2 separate regions of the Homo sapiens genome follow, and region 2 is linked to region 1. Evidence: promoter capture Hi-C in 16 types of primary human blood cells and fetal thymus (Javierre and others, 2016). All regions are on one chromosome and are shown on one strand. Each heading gives the region's core, a stretch centred on a gene start or on the middle of the fragment in contact. The rest is flanking DNA. Distances are from core to core; before and after follow the strand shown. Region 1 holds the start of PRDM6 (PR/SET domain 6). Region 2 overlaps CSNK1G3 (casein kinase 1 gamma 3).

Region 1 (4,140 bases), core at 979-3,478:
GAATTCTGATGTTTAGTTAGGCATTTGCTATTAACTTGGAGGAAGAGGGGAGTAAGCGTCTTTTACTAAATTACAGTCACCCTAATTTCTAAAAATAAATACATAAACCAACATGGGTTATGAATGTTTGCGGGGTCAAAGGTGCGCGGATAAAGCGGGATCAGCGGAATCGGAGGAGAACAGAAATTTTCTTCTCAGTAAGTAGCAGTCATTTTTTTTTCTTTTCCTTCTTTTTAAATGAATAGTAGATCTAAGAATACTGCCTGCCTTCAAGGAGAAACGGACTCAGTTTCATCTAAAATTCCTACTCCAGTGAGGCCTGGCCAGCGAACAGCTCCCGCCGGTTCCCCCACAACCCCGCGGCCCGAAAATGACCCCTCCAGAGGTGGGGTGGAGAGTAGCAAAAACAAGCCCTGGTCTGCGTGCTCCCCAGAGACGCTGAGGGTCCCTCCCTCGTCCCGGCTAAGGCCAGGCAGGGCCTGACCCAGACACCCCCTGTCACACGCTGCCAGTACCCGCCTGGCCCCGGGCACTGTCCGGCGGGAGGGCAGAGGTCTGTTAGGCCGGGTCCACGGTAGACTCCGGCCCCAAACACTTGGGACTGTGAAGCAGGTGAGGAGAGGGAGGGAGAGGGAACCCCAAAGTGCCACCGGCCGTCCCATCCGTTCTCTTTCCTTCTCCAACGCCAGAAAACTTTTGTCACAGAGATCGGGGAGGCGCGGGCCAGCGGCCAGGACCAGGTGCTCCCCACCCACCCGGCCCCGTGTCACTCCTATCCGACCCGCCTCCCTGACAGGCACCCGCGCCCGCCGGCGCCGGCGCCGGCGCCCCGGGAGAGAGCGCGCGGGCTGCGGCTACGTACGGTTGTTGGGGTCGCTGGTGTGCTGGTTGAGCGGGATGATCTCCATGCGCTGCTGGCCATACAGGTAATAGTCCAGCTCCTCTGCGCTGCAGCGGAAGCGCGGGGCGCCGCGACCCTCCCCGCCGCCGCCGCCACCACCACCGCACTTGACGGGCCCGGGGCCGGAGGTGGCGCCGAGGCACAGTTCCTTGGGGGGCAGCGGCTCGGCGGCGACGGCAGCGGCGGCTAGAGGCGCGAACACCGGCAGCTGCGACACCGGCAGGGCCGAGAGACCAGCCAGCGCGGCGGCAGCGGCCGCAGCAGCGCAGGAGGAGGCGGAGGAGGCGGAGGTGGAAGAGGAAGCCGGCGTGGACGAGGCGGAGGAGAGAGAGGCGGGCCGCGGGCGCAGGCTGTCCGGCGGAGGCTCAGCGCGCTCCGGGGGCGGGGGCGGCGGCGGCGGCTGAAGAGGCTGCGGCGCGCTCAGGAGACCCGCGGCGCCGCTGCCCTTGAGCGGGCCTGCGCCTCCGTGAGGGAAGAGTTGCTGCCAGTGCTGCAGGTAGGCTGGGTCCACTTTGAGGAAGGCCGAACCGCCGGGGTCTCCGGGCTTCAGCATGTCCGGCGCCTCGAACTGGGGGCAGAGGGCAGGGAAGAGGGGGCGCGTGAGCTGGGCGAAAGGGGCCGGGAAGAGGGCCACTGGGACCCTGGAGAAAGTGCCCGAGCCGGTGGTTCAGCCGGCGGCCGCCCGGTTCCGCGGCTCCCTCTTCCCAACTCCGCTTGGGCGCAAAGTTTACTCCGAAGCTGCGGCGCCGCACAGAGGGAGCTGTGTGCACCCTGCTCTGCCTCCCCGATCGCAGCGTCCAGCTCCCATCCAGCAATGCTGGGGCCCGACAGGAGGGCGCTGCCCCGTAGAACTCGGCTGCAGGACGCAGCCCCCGCCCTCAGCCAGCGCCCGGAGCCGACCCGAGCCGGCGTGGCGCAGCGCCCGAGCCGCGTTGGCCTCAGGCGCCAGGAGGCAGAACAGTCTCGCCGCCCGCCCCCAACCTAGGACCACCAACCTTCCTATCTACCAAGCCCTAGACTCTTAAGTCCCAGACCAGCCTCACCTTACCTGAAAACTCGGTGCTGCCGGTGGGTGCGTGCGGGTGTCTCGGTGAGCGTGCGGGTGCGCGAGAGTGTGCGCCCTGCGTGCGCTACATGCCCCTGAGCAGCGCGGGAGGAGAGTCCTAGAGATTGTGCCGCCCGGAAACCTCCCGACCTGCAAGCGAGAAAATTGGGAGGCCCGCGGAGGGCGCGAGAGTGCGGACGGACCTGGGCGCCCGACTCAACCGCCGTGGGCTGCTGCGCTTGGCCGCTGCCGCGTCCTGGCTCCTTGGTTCCACGCTCTGGCAGCTTCCCGGCTGGACACGTGGGTTTTACGACAGCACAAAATAGAGTGAGTGTGTGTGTGTGTGTGTGTGTGTGTGTGTGTGTGTGTGTGTGTGTGTGTGTGTGTGTGTGTGTGAGAGAGAGAGAGAGAGAGAGAGAGAGAGAGAGAGAGAGAGAGAGAGAGAACGGAGGGGGGAGGGGAGGCAGGCCAGAAGAAGGGGAGGGGAGAGGGAAGAAGGAAGTTCTAATTCGGCCCGACCCACATCGCCAGAGCGCCTTTCCCGCACAAACTCCTCCGCCCTCCCATCCCCTGTTTTTTTGGCGTGACGTCTGCCGCTAGCCTGTTGTCTCTTTCTGCCCATGATATGTCTTTTCTGGGTCCCAGCTCAGTGCCCTGATCTTGAAAGCAGTGGAAATGCGGCAACGGGAATGCATCTCCGCACACGCTGTGGTGTCCGCGCTGGAGCAAGCCCGCGCCGCCAGGACCGGGTTTGCGCTTTTGCCCGGCTCAGTTTTTCCTGAAGTGCTTCTGGGTGCCAGAGTCCACTCGCCCGCCACGCAACCTCTAACATAAATCCTCCGGGGAGAAAAGTTGGGGGCGGAGCGGGACGGGTTGCGCGCTGCAGTGAAACCCTCTGTCTGCAGCCCAGGAGGGAGGCTTGTCGGTGCAGGGAGGCGTAGGACCGAGGGTCCTGAGACCGAGAGCAGCTGGTCCTGGAGGGACTCAAGCTTGGCCGTGGGGCTGGGAGGCGGCTGCAATGGAGTCTGCACTCCACCCAGCGCTCTGCTGACCCCTTCTCGGGTTGTCTTCTGGAGGGCTCTTTCCCTCTCCTTCTTGGGGCCCGGAGACAAGTATCCAGTGTTACGTCTGGTGGCACAACTGCTCCGGGACACGGGCGAGGCTGTTTGCGGTCAGCTGCCTGCGGCTGCCGCAGGAGGTCACGCATAGGTTTCTCTACCCAAAACCTGGTGTTAGAGGGGCAGGGTGGGAGTGCAGCCCCACCTCCACCATGTCCTCTCCCCAGACTTTGTGCCAGGGCAGCCCTTCGATGCAGTCTCGCACCCACGAAGGAGGCACTTGCCCCCCAGCTCTTCCTGGCATTTTCGGTAGTAGATGGTAGAGGGCACAGGCAGGGTGTGTGAAATTGACCGACTCAGGAGGTACTTTCCCATCGCCGGGGTTCTGGCCATACCGTAAAGAGAAGAAACGGCATTTATCTTTTTCCAAACAACCTAACTTATTTAGCACTTGCCAATCTGAGCAATTAATAGCCATTCTTTCCTGATTTCTGCTTGTTTCTTTTTCTCTTCCCACCACTCAAGTTTTCTGAACCTGGGAAACGTGCTGTTCAGACTTCATCCGGGTCTCATTCAGGATGCTTCGATGTTGGTTGGAAGAGAGTTAGACCGAAAATGTTTTGACTGGCGTCGTTATGACAAGGTCATCCGTCATTGTTGGATAGATTGATAGCACCCAAGTTTAAGGCAGACACCACGAGGGAAAGCCCACGGCGCTGTGGTCCCGGAGGCTAACCAGGCAGTGTCCGCAGACCTCCAGCAACTCCATCGGGAGGAGAGGATGAAGTTCCAGGCCCGTTTCAATTAATCTGCTCGCAGAACTGCCGAAGAGTGGCTTGTCGGGCCACGGGAGAAGAAACAAATGCTCTTTCTCACACTCTCCTGGTTCATTGCTGAGAAACCAGGACACTCCTCTGTTCCCTGGGAGAGACAGTGAACTCCAGGGATGGAAGTCCGGACTCCGGCGGCGGTCCCGTCATTTGCCTTCTTGTTTCTGCCCAAACCCAGCTAGTTCCAAGCGCTTGGTCCCCAAGACTGGAAGTCCCCAAGAACCTACCTCTACCTGTCCCAACCCTGCCTCCCCCCTACCCTTTCACCCCCTGCCACCATTAGAAAGTCTCTGGATTTTGAAATGC
Region 2 (4,129 bases), core at 1,378-3,877, 520 kb before region 1:
CCATATTGCTTTTTCCTCAGTACCTCTGGGCAGTGACTGTACCATGATTTCACGGAGAGAATGTTAATATGACTTATGAATAACAGTACCATCAGTAATACTGAAATCAATGCAGATGTCACAAAATATGAACTTCTCAAGGAATAACTTCTTTTAAATATTTGGGCAACTCTGTTTTCTCTGTTGTATTATCCACTGAGAAAAGAAAATTCCTGTTTGATTATGCTCTTACAGAAGTTATAAAAAACCAGATTAGGTATATAACTGGTTGACACTTAAGATACTGTACTGCTTTCTACAACAGAAGAACTTCTGGAAAATGTTCTATGGAACTATATTCATTGATACCACCTCATTGGTCCATTCCATTCACTGATGGGCAAAGCACTCATGTTTTGACAAAACTTTAAAGCTTCCATAAAGGTTAAATTAGAGAAAAAAAAAAAAAGAAAAAGAATGTAAGACAACCACAAAATGAAGTATGAAAGTATGACATTTTTGTTTCTAAGAGTGAGTCCTTGAAAATATACGTGGTCACTACAGAGATGATTTTAATCACAAGACAGCAGATGAACATGTAAGTAACTCCCCAGGATCTGTCTGTGTCCAGAGTCATTTGTGGCGCTGTATGGTTTTCCTTTTCCTTCGTTTGAAAAAACAGCAGCACCTGCAGATGAGGGAAACACTCTTTTTATTTTAAAAGCACTAAAATATCACAAAGTTGACTGTATCACTTTAACTTAAATGATCATAAAAAGCAACAGGCTAGTGCAAGATAAACAGTGATTACACCAATGAAGCATACGTATTAGTGAAAATATGGCAGAGCTATTACTATTATGTTTCATTCACATGCCTTTTAAGAATAGCAAGACATTCTATGCAACATAAAAAGGAGCCATTAAATTCAAAAGGTTTTTCACTAAGAGTAATTAAGAATTTCATTCTATGCATTCTCACCCTTTCTCCCTGATATTTATATGTGACTGTTGAAGCCATTAGGAAGGCAATAATGATCCTAACATTGGGGAGTTTATTCTCACCAATAATCAGTTTAGACTCCAAAAATAAAAAGACACTCCAATATACACTAGTCAACATTTTCCATCATATTAAAAAAGTGAAAGACAGAAAATACATTATATAGAATACCAAGACTGGCAATTTTGAATTCTTTAAGGGTTAAAGAAGGTCAAGCTTATTGAAAGTTTAGTTAAGGTAAAAACTATGCTTAATATTTAAAGTAGCACAATTGAGGTGATTCCATTTTACAAGTCAAAACTGTATATGCAAAAAAATATAATACTGACTTTTATTTCTAGGTGAAAAAAAATCTTGGCTGGGCACAGTGGCTCATGCCTGTAATCCCAGCACTTTGAGAGGCCGAGGCAGGAGGATTGCTTGAGCTCAGGAGTTTAAGAATTCAAGACCAGCCTGGACAATACAGCAAGACCCCATCTCTAAATATCTCTCTCTCTCTAACTACATATACACATACACAAATATCTCTAAATATATATATACACACATACATATATAAATGTACACACATATATTATATTATACATACATACGCACACACACACACACACACACATGCACTGGACATGGTGGCACCCGCCTGTTACCCCATCTCCTTGAGAGGCTGAGGCAGGAGGAATGTTTGATCTATGATTGTGCCACTGAACCCCAGTCTGTGTGACAGGGCAAGACCCTGTCTCTAAAAGAGGAGATGAACACATCAAGGCTGCTGTGGGAAAATGCTGTGGTCTGGTATGAACTGAAAAAATCACTGATCTGCTCCCACCAAAAAAAAAAAAGAAAAAAATTAAATACACATCTATCTTAAATGCCTCACAATCCTTCAAATAAAGGCATGAAGGTATGGCATTTTCCCCTTCCAGACATAAAAGAGTCTATTAAAATATACAACATGACAGACACTACATATAGTTAGGCACCTTTTCTTTTAACCTTTAAACAGTCAACCCCTTCCTAAGGTTGAATTTACTTTTGGCGCAGGCAAGCATGGTTGAGTATCCCTGGTTTCCACTGAAGTCCTCTGTGGGTATGTGGGCATGTTTATAAATCATATTTTGTAATAAAAGCAAAGTATATTTATATACATGGTGATTTCATCATCGAGAGCTGCCAATTCAGACTGTGTATAATATGCCCTTATAAAGATGTTTCTATAATTCTTACTAATCTATATTCATAGAAGAATAGTTTTGGCCAGGAGGGGTGGCTCATGCGTGTAATCCCAGCACTTTGGGAGGCCAAGGTGGGCAGATCACAAGGTCAGGAGTTCAAGACCAGCCTGACCAACATGGTAAAACCCTGTCTCTACTAAAAATACAAAAATTAGCCAGGCGTGGTGACAGGCACCTGTAATCCCAGCTACTCAGGAGGCTGAGGCAGGAGAATCACTTGAACCCAGGAGGCGGAGGTTGCAGTGAGCCAAGGTCGCGCCATTGCACTCCAGCCTGGGCGACAGAGTGAGACTCTGTTCCAAAAAAAAAAAAAAAATAGCTTCAAGTGTCCCACCCGGCAAAAGATTACAGAATATAAAATAACTACTAGGTATGTTTTATATACTTCTGTGAAATAAATGTAAACAGAAATCTACACTGTCCAGTTAAATTACATAATCTCTCTACCCACATTATCTTTAGTCAAAAATAATTTTAAATTATTTATTGTGATTTCTGCCATAATTATGAAACTACTATGAGGGTACTGCAAACCAAATTACACAACTGCATTTTTTTAAGTAAACCAAACAGTAAACACCGACTAGACCGTGGAATGTAAATAATTTAAAATTGTGGACCAGCTGATAAAGATTCAACTAGAAATATATGTAATGATGAATGTTTATCAACTTTACTCTCATGGAGGTGACTAGCAGAAAGAACTGAAATGGATTACCCAGTCAAGAGCCTAGAGAAGAGCTGCCACAGTACAACAAGACTACACATGTAAGAGATTTGATCTGGATTTAAAAAAATAAGTCAAATTTATTTTTAACTGTCAGCTACCTAATATTTCTCAAATCTCAATTACTTTCTAAAAGATAAAATCCTTTACTCCAAATGAACCTTTAAATTTAAGACTTAGAAAAGAGCAGAAAAATATCCAAATAGCAGAAAGCAAGACATAAAAATAGGTATTTAGAAGTGACAGACCAAATACTTAGAATATTAAATTTAAGAATATGGCCATATTTCAATGGAAATTTATTGTTTGATATAAAATTCCTTTAATAATGTTCACTATTCTTAAACACTATCCTTTCAAATTCCAAAGTAGATTCTTTCAAAATTTTCTAAAGTTGTATTAGCCCTTTGAAATGGGCAATTTAATGTAATACACATTTTGATGAACAAGACAAAGTCCCAAATTTTCTACACTTGTATCAGCAATTTACTTTGCTTAGTTTGTATTTCCAGTACTGAGAGTTCTGAGAGTTGAGTTCTGAGAGTTGAGTTCTTTACACTTAAGTAATCTTTCCTTCAACAGTGTTTTACTGAACTACGCCAAGCATTTATTTGAGACTAAATAAGATTTTCAAATAAATTCTAATGGCCCTTAAATTCAAACACAATCTAAAAAGGACATCTATTTTAAATAATTCCCACTAAATAAAGAACGTCCTTATAAAGATTTGCAAAAGTAAAGCTGGCATGCTATTAAAGTTACTACCACCAGAGGACAGCATTGCCTTATGTGATACAAATGCATCCAAATAGACAAGAGAGAGGTTCTCAAAATACGATATACTTACAGAAGTTAGGAAGTAAATTGATGTTTTAACCTTATGGCTTATTTCTTAAGATAAAAGTAATTACCGAAACAGCTAATTTATAGTCTTAGAGATTAAGAAATCAGGTCTCATCTCAATTGCTTCCTCTTCCCCAGCACTTAATCTGAAACAGTGCTGCTCCCATGTAGCCACTTGAGCACACTATTGTTTTATTTTTCTGTAATAACTTACTCCTACTTTGAAATTATTTTATTTATTTATTATCTGCCTTTGCACTAGAATTTAAGCTTCATAAAGGACTGCTCACAGTTATAGCCCAACAAACTGGCACAAAGTTAGTACTTATTTAATAGTGGTCCTCCC

Evidence for each region. Contacts are between HindIII fragments. The CHiCAGO score rates a contact against its expected background, and 5 or more counts as called.
Region 2: a contact is called between a fragment that was not itself captured here and the fragment with the promoter of PRDM6 in region 1, in 2 of 17 cell types (megakaryocytes and erythroblasts). The highest score is 6.9, in megakaryocytes.

The regions. Positions count from the first base shown.
Region 1 is chr5:123,087,329-123,091,468 of GRCh38, reverse strand. It overlaps PRDM6 (PR/SET domain 6), which reads right to left and starts at 2,228. Exons shown (of 8, transcript NM_001136239.4): 1 at 1,950-2,228; 2 at 863-1,469. The coding sequence starts at 1,454. PRDM6-AS1 (PRDM6 antisense RNA 1) reads left to right here and starts at 1,153. Exons shown (of 2, transcript NR_146771.1): 1 at 1,153-1,397; 2 at 3,530-4,140. RefSeq lists enhancers at 2,489-3,033, 3,034-3,578. The HindIII fragment of the contact is 4,313 bases long and covers 1-2,937 here.
Region 2 is chr5:123,610,880-123,615,008 of GRCh38, reverse strand. It overlaps CSNK1G3 (casein kinase 1 gamma 3), which reads right to left. Exons shown (of 14, transcript NM_001364140.2): 14 at 1-667. The coding sequence ends at 613. Among named protein-coding and RNA genes, the nearest start is that of CSNK1G3, 100 kb to the right of the region's middle. The HindIII fragment of the contact is 2,856 bases long and covers 1,200-4,055 here.